Regions from separate parts of the Homo sapiens genome. Here regions 2 and 3 are each linked to region 1. The links are contacts of gene promoters, found by promoter capture Hi-C in human tissues and cell types (Jung and others, 2019). All regions are on one chromosome and are shown on one strand. Each heading gives the region's core, a stretch centred on a gene start or on the middle of the fragment in contact. The rest is flanking DNA. Distances are from core to core; before and after follow the strand shown. Region 1 holds the start of WIPF3 (WAS/WASL interacting protein family member 3). Region 2 overlaps FKBP14 (FKBP prolyl isomerase 14). Region 3 overlaps MIR550A3HG (MIR550A3 host gene).

What was found. Contacts are between HindIII fragments. The study calls those that stand out against the background at their distance.
Region 2: a contact is called between a fragment that was not itself captured here and the fragment with the promoter of WIPF3 in region 1, in 1 of the 25 tissues and cell types used here (dorsolateral prefrontal cortex).
Region 3: a fragment that was not itself captured here is called in contact with the fragment with the promoter of WIPF3 in region 1 in 2 of the 25 tissues and cell types used here (mesendoderm cells and neural progenitor cells).

The regions. Positions count from the first base shown.
Region 1 is chr7:29,804,392-29,808,452 of GRCh38, reverse strand. It overlaps WIPF3 (WAS/WASL interacting protein family member 3), which reads right to left and starts at 1,945. Exons shown (of 9, transcript NM_001080529.3): 1 at 1,775-1,945. RefSeq lists an enhancer at 1,300-2,209. The HindIII fragment of the contact is 12,406 bases long and covers 1-3,464 here.
Region 2 is chr7:30,012,833-30,016,893 of GRCh38, reverse strand. It overlaps FKBP14 (FKBP prolyl isomerase 14), which reads left to right. Exons shown (of 4, transcript NM_017946.4): 4 at 2,001-4,061. The coding sequence ends at 2,159. The region is part of intron 2 of FKBP14-AS1 (FKBP14 antisense RNA 1); the gene reads right to left. Among named protein-coding and RNA genes, the nearest start is that of FKBP14, 12 kb to the left of the region's middle. The HindIII fragment of the contact is 5,507 bases long and covers 1-4,061 here.
Region 3 is chr7:29,665,736-29,669,796 of GRCh38, reverse strand. All of the region lies in intron 1 of MIR550A3HG (MIR550A3 host gene), which reads left to right. Among named protein-coding and RNA genes, the nearest start is that of MIR550A3, 13 kb to the left of the region's middle. The HindIII fragment of the contact is 5,345 bases long and covers 1-4,061 here.

The DNA of each region.
Region 1 (4,061 bases), core at 696-3,195:
ATTTAACCTCTGTGACCTTTTATTTTCTCATCTGTAAAAAAGGCACAATAACAATATCTCTGTTAAAGAATTGCTGCGAATCACAGGAGGTGATGCACATAAAGGCATCTGCAGTGTATGTTTCATTTCCAGTTACTTCTTAACTTTCTTTTGCCCCTCCTCGCCACTTCTTTTCTGATTTGGTTTTTGTGGTTTTTAAATGTATCTTTGAAATGCATTAGCTGGAAAACTGCAGCAATCTGTGTGTTACCACAATGAGTGGACTTTAGCATCACATTTTTATTTACTTTTTCACTGAGGTAGAATTTACGTTAAGTGCACAAGTCTCAAGGGTATAACTTCAGTAATTCTTAGGTCAAGGTGAGAAGCATTTCTAGCATCCCAGAAGCCTCCCTCATGTCCTGTCCAGGTATTGACCTGGAGTTTATCTCCTTGCAAGGCCCAAAAACAACCTCTCCTCTGACCTCTTTCGTAATGATAAAGTTAAAAAAAATTGAAGGGAGGCAGGAGTCCCAGTGATAACTATTAATGCTGGGCACAAGAAGTGCACTCCCAGTCCTCCCTGTGAAGTGAGAAAAGATTCTGGAAAGGAGGAGGCGGAGGGGCACAAACCTTCTAAATCACACTGGTCATGCCAAACAAGGCCCTCATTTACAGCCAAGGACCCCAGGCACAGAGGCGAAGAGACAGCCTAACTTCCTGCTACAGAGTAACTTTCCTCCCCAATACAGCCAGTTACAAAGCGCCCTGAGTGTCAGGGATTGGCCACACTGTCCCAGGGCGCATGGAACCGCTCTCCTGGCCTTTCCCTGCAGAAACTTCTTTCCAGAGGGAGGCGCACACACGGTCCCCACGCCGCCCCGGCGCCCGCCACGGGCACACCCACGCGGCTGGCACGCCACCCTCCAAAGGCGCTGTTCCTGAGAGCCGGTGCCTGCCTGCCCACGGGGCCCGGGCGGCGCTCCTCCAGGTCCAGGGCGGCCGGGTGCCCGCCCTCCCCGCCACCTTCAGAGAGTGCGTGTCAGGGGCTGGGGGAAATCTGCTCTGCCACCTACCTACCCACCACCTAATCCTCCAAAGGACCCTAAACCCATTTGTGGCCAAATGTACATTGCTGGAGCACAGTCTGACTACTGACCCCAGGGGCTTGGAGATGAGCACGGGAGGGGTGTCCAGAGACCTGCGCTCTGTCCCCATGAGCTGTGTGACCTTGGACAAGTCACTTCACATCTCTGGAGTTGGCTTCCTCACTAGGGGGCTCCTTCTGTATTCCCCAAGCCACCTCCGGCTCTGCAATTTCCTAGCTCTCTTTTACTCCGCCCCAGCCCTTCCCGCGACAGCCCCCTCCCCAGCGAGACCCCAGCCTTTTGTTCCGGGGGCGAAGCGGAGAAGAGAGAGCGTCGCGAAGGACCAGGCCGAGGCGGCCTCGGTGCCAGGGGCTGCTCACCGGGGAGTCCAGTCCGGAGAAGTCACCAAGCAACCCCGTGGTGACCTCGCTCCCCACCCCGCGGTTTGTTTCCGCCCGGCCCGGCCCGGCCCGGCCGGGGCGGCGTGGCAGGGTGCGGGTGGGGGGCGTGAGCGCCGCGCGGCACGTCGACAACCTCCTGGGCCCGGGGCTGCAGCCCGGCGGGGGTTCCCCGGCCCTCCCACGCCCTCAGGATCTCTGTCCCGGGCCGGGCCACTCTGCTCCGGGACCGACCAGGGCGGCGGCCGCCACACCGCCCGTTCCTTCCACCCTCGGGCACCGACCCGCACCCGCGCGGGAAGCCGCTACCTGCAGGTGGCGGAGCCGGGGGCTGGACTGGACTCGAGCTCCGGCCGACGTCTCCGCCGCCGCCGCCTCCGGCTCCGGGCTCCGTCCCGCAGCGCCCGTGCTCCAAGCGGCGCCGCTACCGCCGAGCTGCGCTCGGTGCGCCCGGCTCGCTCCCCGGCCACCGGCTCTGGTGCTGCCGGGACGCGGAGGCGGGGCCGCCGCCCCCACCTGCTCGCAGGCTCCTGCCTGGGAGCCGCCGCCGCCCCGCGGCAGGGACACGGCCCCGGCGGGCGGGGTCGCTCTGGGACCCTGGAGGCGGGTCCCAAGTCGGCGGGCGCGCCTCCCGGGTACAGAGTCCCAAGTCTCAGCTGCGGAGAGACTGAGGCCTAAGGCTGGAATTCCCCAAATAGGAGCTGTTGCGCGGGCGGCACACGGCCCAGCACAGCTACTCTGGGGACACGCCACTCCTTGAATTTATTCCAAAATGTTGAGCCCTTACTAAGCTCCAGGCGGTGTCATAAGCGATGGGGACGAGAGAACAAGATTACCTCTTGCCCTCGTGGAGTTCACAGTCTAGAAAAGGAAAGCGACCAATGGGCGATTACAGCACAACCAAGAGGAGGCAGAGGCCTCCTGAGCCGGCTCCCAGAGGGAGCACCTGATCTAAACTTGGGGTGGGGAGTAGGTCAGGGAGGGCTTCTTGAGGAGCTGACGTCGACGAGAAAAACTGAAGACTGAGTGTGAATTAGCCAGGTGATGAGAGAATTATCCGGGTAGCCTGGGGAGGTAGATTGATGTCCCAGGTAGAGTCGAAGGGAGGAGAAAGCAGACTGAAAACTGAAATAGGGCCGGGCGCGGTGGCTCAAGCCTGGAATCCAAGGACTTTGGGAGGCCGAGGTGGACGGATCACTTGAGGTCAGGAGTTACTAGCCTGGCCAACATGGTGAAGCCCTGTCTCTACCAAAAAATACAAAAGTTAGCCGGGTGTGGTGGCGCTCTCTAGTCCTAGCTACTCGGGAGGCTGAGGTGGAAGGATCTCTTGAACCCAGGAGGCAAAAGTTGCAATGAACCACTGCACTCCAGCCTGGGCGATAGAGTGAGACCCTGTCTCAAAAAACCAAACCAAACCAAACAAAGAAACAAACAAAAACAAACCTGAAATAAGCTTGAAGAACGGAAAACCTTGCTTCTGTCACATTTCTTGTTCAGGCCCTTGGAGGATGCAGAAAGTTTGTGTCCGAGGCTGAATGCATTGCTGTAGGTGCTGAGATCATTGGGTGAGGATTCTGTATTGCCCATGTCCTGGGCATTCCTGCTAGTGGAGGAGCTAAGCGGGTACTCGTGGACTGTTCACTCAGCCTCGGTGTTTGAGTATCTGCCATGAGCCAGACACTCTGCAGGGCCTCAGGGCAAGGTGTCTAACTCTAAAGTTGCTGCTGGTCTGGAATAGAGGAGAAACCTGGCGCTCAGCGCTGTGCTGAGGCTTGTGTGAAATGTTGGGGACCCAGGTGAGGGAGCAGCCAATGCCAGCAGGGAAGATCTCACACGTGGATTGCAGCCTGTATTCAGGTTCAAGTTCTGTAGTGGCTGCTGTCAAAGTATGTTCCCCAAGCAGCCCTTAGCTGATCTCTTAATTACTCATGTTTGTAGCTGGGCAATGTGTCGAAAGCAAGGATTAATAATACACTTTTGATGTCTTTCACTCCAGTGTCGTCAAGAACATGGTTTTCTCTTTTGATTTAGGTGACGAAAGGTCTATGTGTAGTGAGTGGAAGCTGATGAGGCACTTGCTTTCCACCTGTTTGTCCTGAGTTCCTCTTGCCCTTTCCTCCTTTAGAATCATAATAGATGACCACAGGTATGGAACCTGAAGAACAGTTCTCCAACATAAAATTCATAAGCCCTCTTACATGGGTGATTGTTACTAAAACAAAAACAAAACCCAAAACCCCAAAACATGACCCAGCCACTCTCCTTCTCTGGACCTCCAGTGCTAAAGCTCACTAAATACATAACCACTAGTATTCTAATTCAAAAAGGAAGAAAAGTCAAACTATTAGAGAAGACATTGCCATGGGCCTAGAGAGTTCCCATCAGATCTCCTGAGCAGCCCAAGCATGAGCCAGTTGGATGGAAAGCCTGTTATTTATCTCAAGAGATGCTGGATTGGATCAAAGAATTTGTTTTTTAAAATGCCTGGTTGTAGGGATGGGGAGGTGGTGAGTGAGGAATCAATTTGGACATTTGGGGCTGAAAGCTTCAAGAGGCATTCCATTCAGGTGATCAGTGTTTTCTATCCATGTGAAGT
Region 2 (4,061 bases), core at 545-3,044, 210 kb before region 1:
AACTTAAAAATAAATATATACTATATGTGTACTTCTTGAAAGCTGGGGGAGAGAGGATTTGAAATTGCTGGTCTAAACAGAAGGAAGAGAGGTGATATAATTAAAACTGAAAATATAGGCTGATTTTCATTGTGGTGAATCTTGTGGGAAATTGAAAACAATATTTATATTTTTAAATATCTGAATGAAATGAAAATGGAGTCCGGGCATGGTGGCTCACACCTGTAATCCCAGCACTTTGGGAGGCCAAGGCAGGCAAATCTTCTGAGGTCAGGAGTTCGAGGCCAGCCTGGCCAACTTGGTGAAACCCTGTCTCTACTAAAAATACAAAAATTAGCCAGGCATGGTGGCAGGTGCCTGTAATCCCAGCTACTAGGGAGTCTGAGGCAGGTGAATCGCTTGAACCTGGGAGTTGGAAGTTGTAGTGGGCCGAGATCGTGCCACTATACTCCAGCCTGCGTGACAGAGCAAGACTCTATTTCAAAAAAAAAAGAAAAACAAAAAAACAAATGAAAATGGAAAATTGTAGTCTAGGCACTTATCAGACCTGACTTTCTGAGATTGAAAGGTTGTGATTAGACTCAATCTAATCACATGATCATAACCAAAACCCAAAAGACCCACTACTTGCAGACATTTATTCAAGTCAAAGATGCCACTATTTAATCTAGTTTTAAGAGAAGTGTCCATGGGGTGCAGTGGCTCATGCTTCTAATCCCAGCACTTTGGGAGGCTGAGGGGTTTAGATTGCTTGAGCCCAGGAGTTCAAGACCAGCCTGGGCAACATGGTGAAACCCCATCTCTACAAAAAATATAAAAGCCAGATGTGGTAGCACATGCCTGTAAGTCCCAGGTACGTGTGAGGCTGAGGTAGGAGGATTGCTTGAGCCTGGGAGGCAGAGGTTGCAGTGAGCTGAGATGGTGCCACTGCACTCCAGCCTGGGTGACAGAGCAAGATTCTGTCTAAAAGGCCGGGCGCGGTGGCTCACGCCTGTAATCCCAGCACTTTGGGAGGCCGAGGCGGGCAGATCACGAGGTCAGGAGATCGAGACCATCCTGGCTAACACGGTGAAACGCCGTCTCTACTAAAAATACAAAAAATTAGCTGGGCGTGGTGGCGGGCGCCTGTAGTCCCAGCTACTCGGGAGGCTGAGGCAGGAGAATGGCGTGAACCCGGGAGGCGGAGCTTGCAGTGAGCCGAGATTGCGCCACTGCACTCCAGCCTGGGCAACAGAGTGAGACTCCGTCTCAAAAAAAAAAAAAAAAAGATTCTGTCTAAAAAAAGAAAAGAAATGCCTAGTATTTAGATTCAGATTAAGAACAAGTAGTATGCTCTCATTGGGTATTCTCCAATAATATAAGCCCTATATGAGGATTGTATACATGACATAAGCTTTATCTCTGCCTTTGAGCAATATATATATAGAGAGAGCTATATATATATATATATTTTTAATTTTTTAATTTTTTATTTTTTTGACAGAGTCTCACTCTGTTGCCCAGGCTGGAGGGCAGCAGCGCAATCTCGATTCACTGCAACCTCTGCCTTCCAGGTTCAAGCGATTCAACTGCCTCAGCCTCCTGAATAGCTGGGATTACAGACGCATGCCATCATGCCTGGCTAACTTTTTTTTGTATTTTTAGTGGAGATGGGCTTTCATTATGTCGGCCAGGCTGATCTCCAACTCCTGACCTCAAGCAATCTTCCCACTTGGGCCTCCCAAAGTGCTGGGATAACAGGCATGAGCCACCACACCTGGCCCTGCCTTTGAGCAATATTTTGTGTCTCCACTTTAGCAGTTTAGCAACAGTTTTTTTAAGGGAAAAAGTTTCTATTATTTTTTAATTATCATTAAAACTATGTCATAAAATGGCTGTTTAGAAGGTATTATATTTAGTTAATGAACTAAATATAATAACAGTCCATGTCTGTGATATTGATTGGCTCAATGTGGGTATCTTATGAATCCAAGTTATTAATGGGATCTGTTATTTTGTAGGTTAAAGCATATTTAAAGAAGGAGTTTGAAAAACATGGTGCGGTGGTGAATGAAAGTCATCATGATGCTTTGGTGGAGGATATTTTTGATAAAGAAGATGAAGACAAAGATGGGTTTATATCTGCCAGAGAATTTACATATAAACACGATGAGTTATAGAGATACATCTACCCTTTTAATATAGCACTCATCTTTCAAGAGAGGGCAGTCATCTTTAAAGAACATTTTATTTTTATACAATGTTCTTTCTTGCTTTGTTTTTTATTTTTATATATTTTTTCTGACTCCTATTTAAAGAACCCCTTAGGTTTCTAAGTACCCATTTCTTTCTGATAAGTTATTGGGAAGAAAAAGCTAATTGGTCTTTGAATAGAAGACTTCTGGACAATTTTTCACTTTCACAGATATGAAGCTTTGTTTTACTTTCTCACTTATAAATTTAAAATGTTGCAACTGGGAATATACCACGACATGAGACCAGGTTATAGCACAAATTAGCACCCTATATTTCTGCTTCCCTCTATTTTCTCCAAGTTAGAGGTCAACATTTGAAAAGCCTTTTGCAATAGCCCAAGGCTTGCTATTTTCATGTTATAATGAAATAGTTTATGTGTAACTGGCTCTGAGTCTCTGCTTGAGGACCAGAGGAAAATGGTTGTTGGACCTGACTTGTTAATGGCTACTGCTTTACTAAGGAGATGTGCAATGCTGAAGTTAGAAACAAGGTTAATAGCCAGGCATGGTGGCTCATGCCTGTAATCCCAGCACTTTGGGAGGCTGAGGCGGGCGGATCACCTGAGGTTGGGAGTTCGAGACCAGCCTGACCAACACGGAGAAACCCTATCTCTACTAAAAATACAAAAGTAGCCGGGCGTGGTGATGCGTGCCTGTAATCCCAGCTACCCAGGAAGGCTGAGGCGGCAGAATCACTTGAACCCGGAGGCGGAGGTTGCGGTAAGCCGAGATCACCTCCAGCCTGGACACTCTGTCTCGAAAAAAAGAAAAGAAACACGGTTAATAACATATAAATATGTATGCATTGAGACATGCTACCTAGGACTTAAGCTGATGAAGCTTGGCTCCTAGTGATTGGTGGCCTATTATGATAAATAGGACAAATCATTTATGTGTGAGTTTCTTTGTAATAAAATGTATCAATATGTTATAGATGAGGTAGAAAGTTATATTTATATTCAATATTTACTTCTTAAGGCTAGCGGAATATCCTTCCTGGTTCTTTAATGGGTAGTCTATAGTATATTATACTACAATAACATTGTATCATAAGATAAAGTAGTAAACCAGTCTACATTTTCCCATTTCTGTCTCATCAAAAACTGAAGTTAGCTGGGTGTGGTGGCTCATGCCTGTAATCCCAGCACTTTGGGGGCCAAGGAGGGTGGATCACTTGAGATCAGGAGTTCAAGACCAGCCTGGCCAACATGGTGAAACCTTGTCTCTACTAAAAATACAAAAATTAGCCAGGCGTGGTGGTGCACACCTGTAGTCCCAGCTACTCGGGAGGCTGAGACAGGAGATTTGCTTGAACCCGGGAGGCGGAGGTTGCAGTGAGCCAAGATTGTGCCACTGCACTCCAGCCTGGGTGACAGAGCAAGACTCCATCTCAAAAAAAAAAAAAGAAGCAGACCTACAGCAGCTACTATTGAATAAATACCTATCCTGGATTTTAAAAAAGAAAAAAATATATATAATTTTATTTTAAATTGGCTTTTATCTTTAATTCTTTTTTTTAAAGTTATCAAATCTTCATTTTCTAAGAGTAGCCCTTTATAGTGTACAAAATGATATTAAGTGCATTATTATCTTCGCTTTTCATGGCTCTGAGTCATAAAACAAGCTGGTGGATCTCACTGTACCTAATTTATAGACGAGGAAATTGTCATTCAAAAAGATTGACTGTTATGCCCAGGGTCAGCACTAACCTGCAGAACCAGTATTCAGTCCCCAAGTTCAGTGTCTTCTACTGCCCTCTACTAATGAAAAGTGAAAATTTCCCTGGGGTCTAATTCTCTCTTCAGTTTGCTGTGCCGTTGTTTATCT
Region 3 (4,061 bases), core at 1,152-3,651, 140 kb after region 1:
AGGGAGTAATCAGGAAAAGTACATCCACTCCGTCTTCCCAATAGCAAACATTTGTATTACTTAAATATTTATATATCGTATAGGCAAGAGAGAAGGCAGTGCTGTGAGGGAAATGTATGGCACTAAAATGAATATGTTAGAAAAGAGGAAAAAAATCAATAATCTAAGCATCCAGTTAGGAACCTAGGAAAAAAAGAGCAAAATAAACTGAAAGCCAGTAGAATCAAGGAAATAATAAAGAGTAGAAATCAATGAAATTGAAAATAGAAAAATAATAGAGAAAGCTGTATTAGTCTTTTTTACATTGCTATAAAGAAATACCCGAGGACTGGGTAGTTTAGAAAGAAAAGAGGTTTATTTTTGCTCATGGTTCTGCAAACCGTACAAGAAGCATGCATGGTACCAGCATCTGCTTCTGGTGAAGACCTTAAGAAGCTTATAATCACGGTGGAAGGCGAAGGGGGAGCAAACAAGAGAGAGAAAGGTTCCAGTGGGGAGGGGGCAGGTCAAGAGAGAGGGAGCAACAGAGAGACGAGTGAGGTCCCAGATTCTCTTAACAATCAGATCTCACATAAACTTACAGAGGGAGAACTCCCTTATTACTGTGGGGCGGGAACCACGTCATTCATGAGGGTTCCACCCCCATGACCCAAACACCTCCCACTAGATCCCAGCTGCAACACTAGAGATCACTTTTCAACATGAGATTTGGAGGGAACAAATATCTAACTATATGAAAAGCCAAGGGAAAAAAGGAGCTGGTTCTTCAAAAAGGTCAATAAAGTTGACAAACCTCTAGCAAGACTGACAAAGAAAGAGAAGACACAAATTATCCATATCCATGTCAATGAAACAGGGGCTATCACTGCAGACTCTGCATACATCAAAAAGATAATAAGGGAATACTGTAAACAACTGTACACACTTAAATTTGTCAATTTAGATGGAATATACCAATTCCTTGAAAAACTCAAACTATTGCCATAAATAAAATCAATATAAAATAGATCATTTAAATATTTCTATAACTATTGAGAACTTGAATTCAAATGTAGAAATTCTTCAAAAAGAAATCTCTAGACCCAGGTATTTTCACTAGAGACTTCTGCTAGAGGTTTAAGAAATCATTAACATCAATTCTATACAATCTCTTCTGGAAAAGAGAAGAGGAAACACTTCCCAATTCTTTACCTCAAACTAGTATTACCTTGATACTAAAACCAACAAAGTACCAACAGTATCAAAACAAAGTAAACTTCAGACTGATATCCCTTGCGAATATAAACACAAAATTCCCAAACAAAATTGCAAAAATAGATTTCAATAATATATTAATTATATACCATGACCAAATGAGGTTTTCTTCCAGGGATGCAAGGCTGTTTCAATATTCAAATACATCATATTACATGTTAAGAGGCAAAATAAGAAAAATCACATAATCATATAAATTGGTACAGAAAAAAAAATTTGAAAGAATTCAATACCCATTCATGGTAAGAACTCTCAGAAAAAAAAAGAAATAAAAGGGAGATTTTCTCAACTGTGTAAAAATCACGTGCAAAGAACTTGTGGCTAACATTATGCTTAATGATTAAATACTGATGCTTTCTCCTAAGGCTGACAACAAGGCATGTATGTTCACATTCACCACTTATTAAACACAGTGCTAAAAGTTTTAGTGCAAAAGGCAAATAATGGAAATAAAAAGCATACAGATTAAAAAGTAAGAAATAAAACTGTCCCTATTTGCCCATGCCAGAACTATGTAAAAAATCCCAGCAAATCTAAAACAACAACAAAAAGATAACCACAACAAAACTCCTAGAACAAGTGAGTTCAGCAAAGTTGCGTGATAAAAGATAAACATAAAAAAATGTATTTTATGTGCTAATGATGGACACCAAAATTAAAATTATAATTCTATGACATGAAAAACTTAAATGTATATCTAGCAAAATACGTATAAGACTTAGATGATCAAAACTATACAATGCTGAGGAAAGGAATCAAAGGTGATCTAAATAAATGAAGAGATATACCATGTTCATAAACTGGAAGATTCAATAAAGATGTCAGTTCTTCCAAAATTGATTTACAAATTTAATGCAATTCTTATCAAAGTCCCAACAAGATTTTTGTAGATATAGCATGTTGTAAAATATATATGAAAAGGCAAAAAAGAAAAAAAGAACCTAGCCAAACCAATTTTGGAAAAGAATAAAGTAGGAGGAATCAGGCTACTTGCTTCTAAGACTTACTGCATAGATGCGTTAATTAAGACTACTGGCCAGACACAGTGGCTCACACCTGTAATCCCAGCGCTTTGGGAGGCTGATGTGGGCGGATCACTTGAGGGCAGGTGTTCAAGACCACATTGGCCAACATGGTGAAACCCAATTTCTACTAAAAATAAAAAAGTAGCTGGGCGTGGTGGCATGTGCCTGTAATCCCAGCTACTCAGGTGGCTGAGGCATGAGAATTGTTTGAACCCAGCAGACAGAGGCTGCAGTGTGCTGCGATCATGCCACTGCACTCCAACCTGGGCAACAGAGTGAGACTCAGTCTAAACAACAACAACAACAACAAAAACCTATATGGTATTGGCAGAGGGGTAGATGCATAAATCAGTGGAAGAGAACAGAGAACCCAGAAATAGACCCATACAAAATATGTCCAATTGACATATTTGGCAGAGGCACAAAAGCAATTCAGTGAAGGAAAGAAAGGAAAGATCCACTTTCAACAAATGGTGCTGGAGTAATGAACATCCATATGCAAACAAACAAACAAACAAACAGAATCTTGACCTAAATTTCATTCAAAATGGATCAGTTAGATATAAAATGCAAAACTCTTAACCTTTACAAAAAATACAGGAGAAAATCTTTATCTCTAGGGCTAGGCAAAGAATCCTTAGACTTGACACCAAAAGCACAATCAATAGGAGAAAAATGGACATACTGGACTTCATAAAAATTTTAAAATTTTTCTATGCAAAAGACCCTGTTTAAGAGAATGAAAAGGCAAGCTACAGAGTGGGAAAATATATTTGCAAGCCATATATATGAAAAGTAATTAGCATCTATAATATATAAAGAACACCCTAAGATCCAAAATTCATAAAACAAACAATTCAAATAGAAATGGAGCAAAATACATAAAGACACGTTTCACATACGGACGGCAAATAAGCACAAAAAGATGTACATCATCATTAGCCAACAGGGAAATGTAAATTAAAACCATAATGATATATCACTACATATGTGTAAGAATGAGTAACATAAAAAATAGTGACCATACCAAATGCAGGTGAGGATACAGATAAACCTAATTTTGGTTGTGCTTAGGTTGTATCCATTGACTACTGAGTATGTAGCACAAGGAAATTTGCATAGTTTCATTCATTCAACAAATATGATATTGAATCAGCTCCATATTCCAGGAAGTAGGCACCTGGGATACAGCTAGGAAATACATAATGGGCACGGGAAAACAGTAGAAAACAAGGTCATTCGCTGAGAGTGAAAGCGGGAGAGGAGGTTTGGGATAACTGGAGAGAGAAGATATGAAACAGGAGTCAAGGGGTTAGCAAAAGTAAGGCTCAAGAACTAAATCAGGATCTGTGGCCTATTTTTGTACCAGTAATGTGAAAAGGACAGTGTTTTCCCCCAACTTTTCCCCAGCAGTTTAAGCTAAGAGAGTTTAAGACTTATAGGGGAGATAAGGAAGAGCGGGGTGGGTGGGTTTCATGCCTTTCTCTAAGTGGCTGCTGTTCTCCCAGGCTTTACCATGGAGGATGCTTTCTGAGCACTCTTGCTAATCTTTTGTCAGCACCTTATGAGCTCTGTGTAAAAATGTCTGTAAGCAATTGCAAATTCCCTTGCTAACCCACACTAGGCATTTACCGACTGACTGGTGAACAATTTGAGCTGAGTTCTTTACCATTGTGTCTAGTGGCATGACCCGTATAATTAAATGCTTGTTTCTGTTCTCCTTGCACATGGTTTTTCTTTTTAATTTATTTTGGGTTATTTGATTGTCCTGTGACCTCAGCT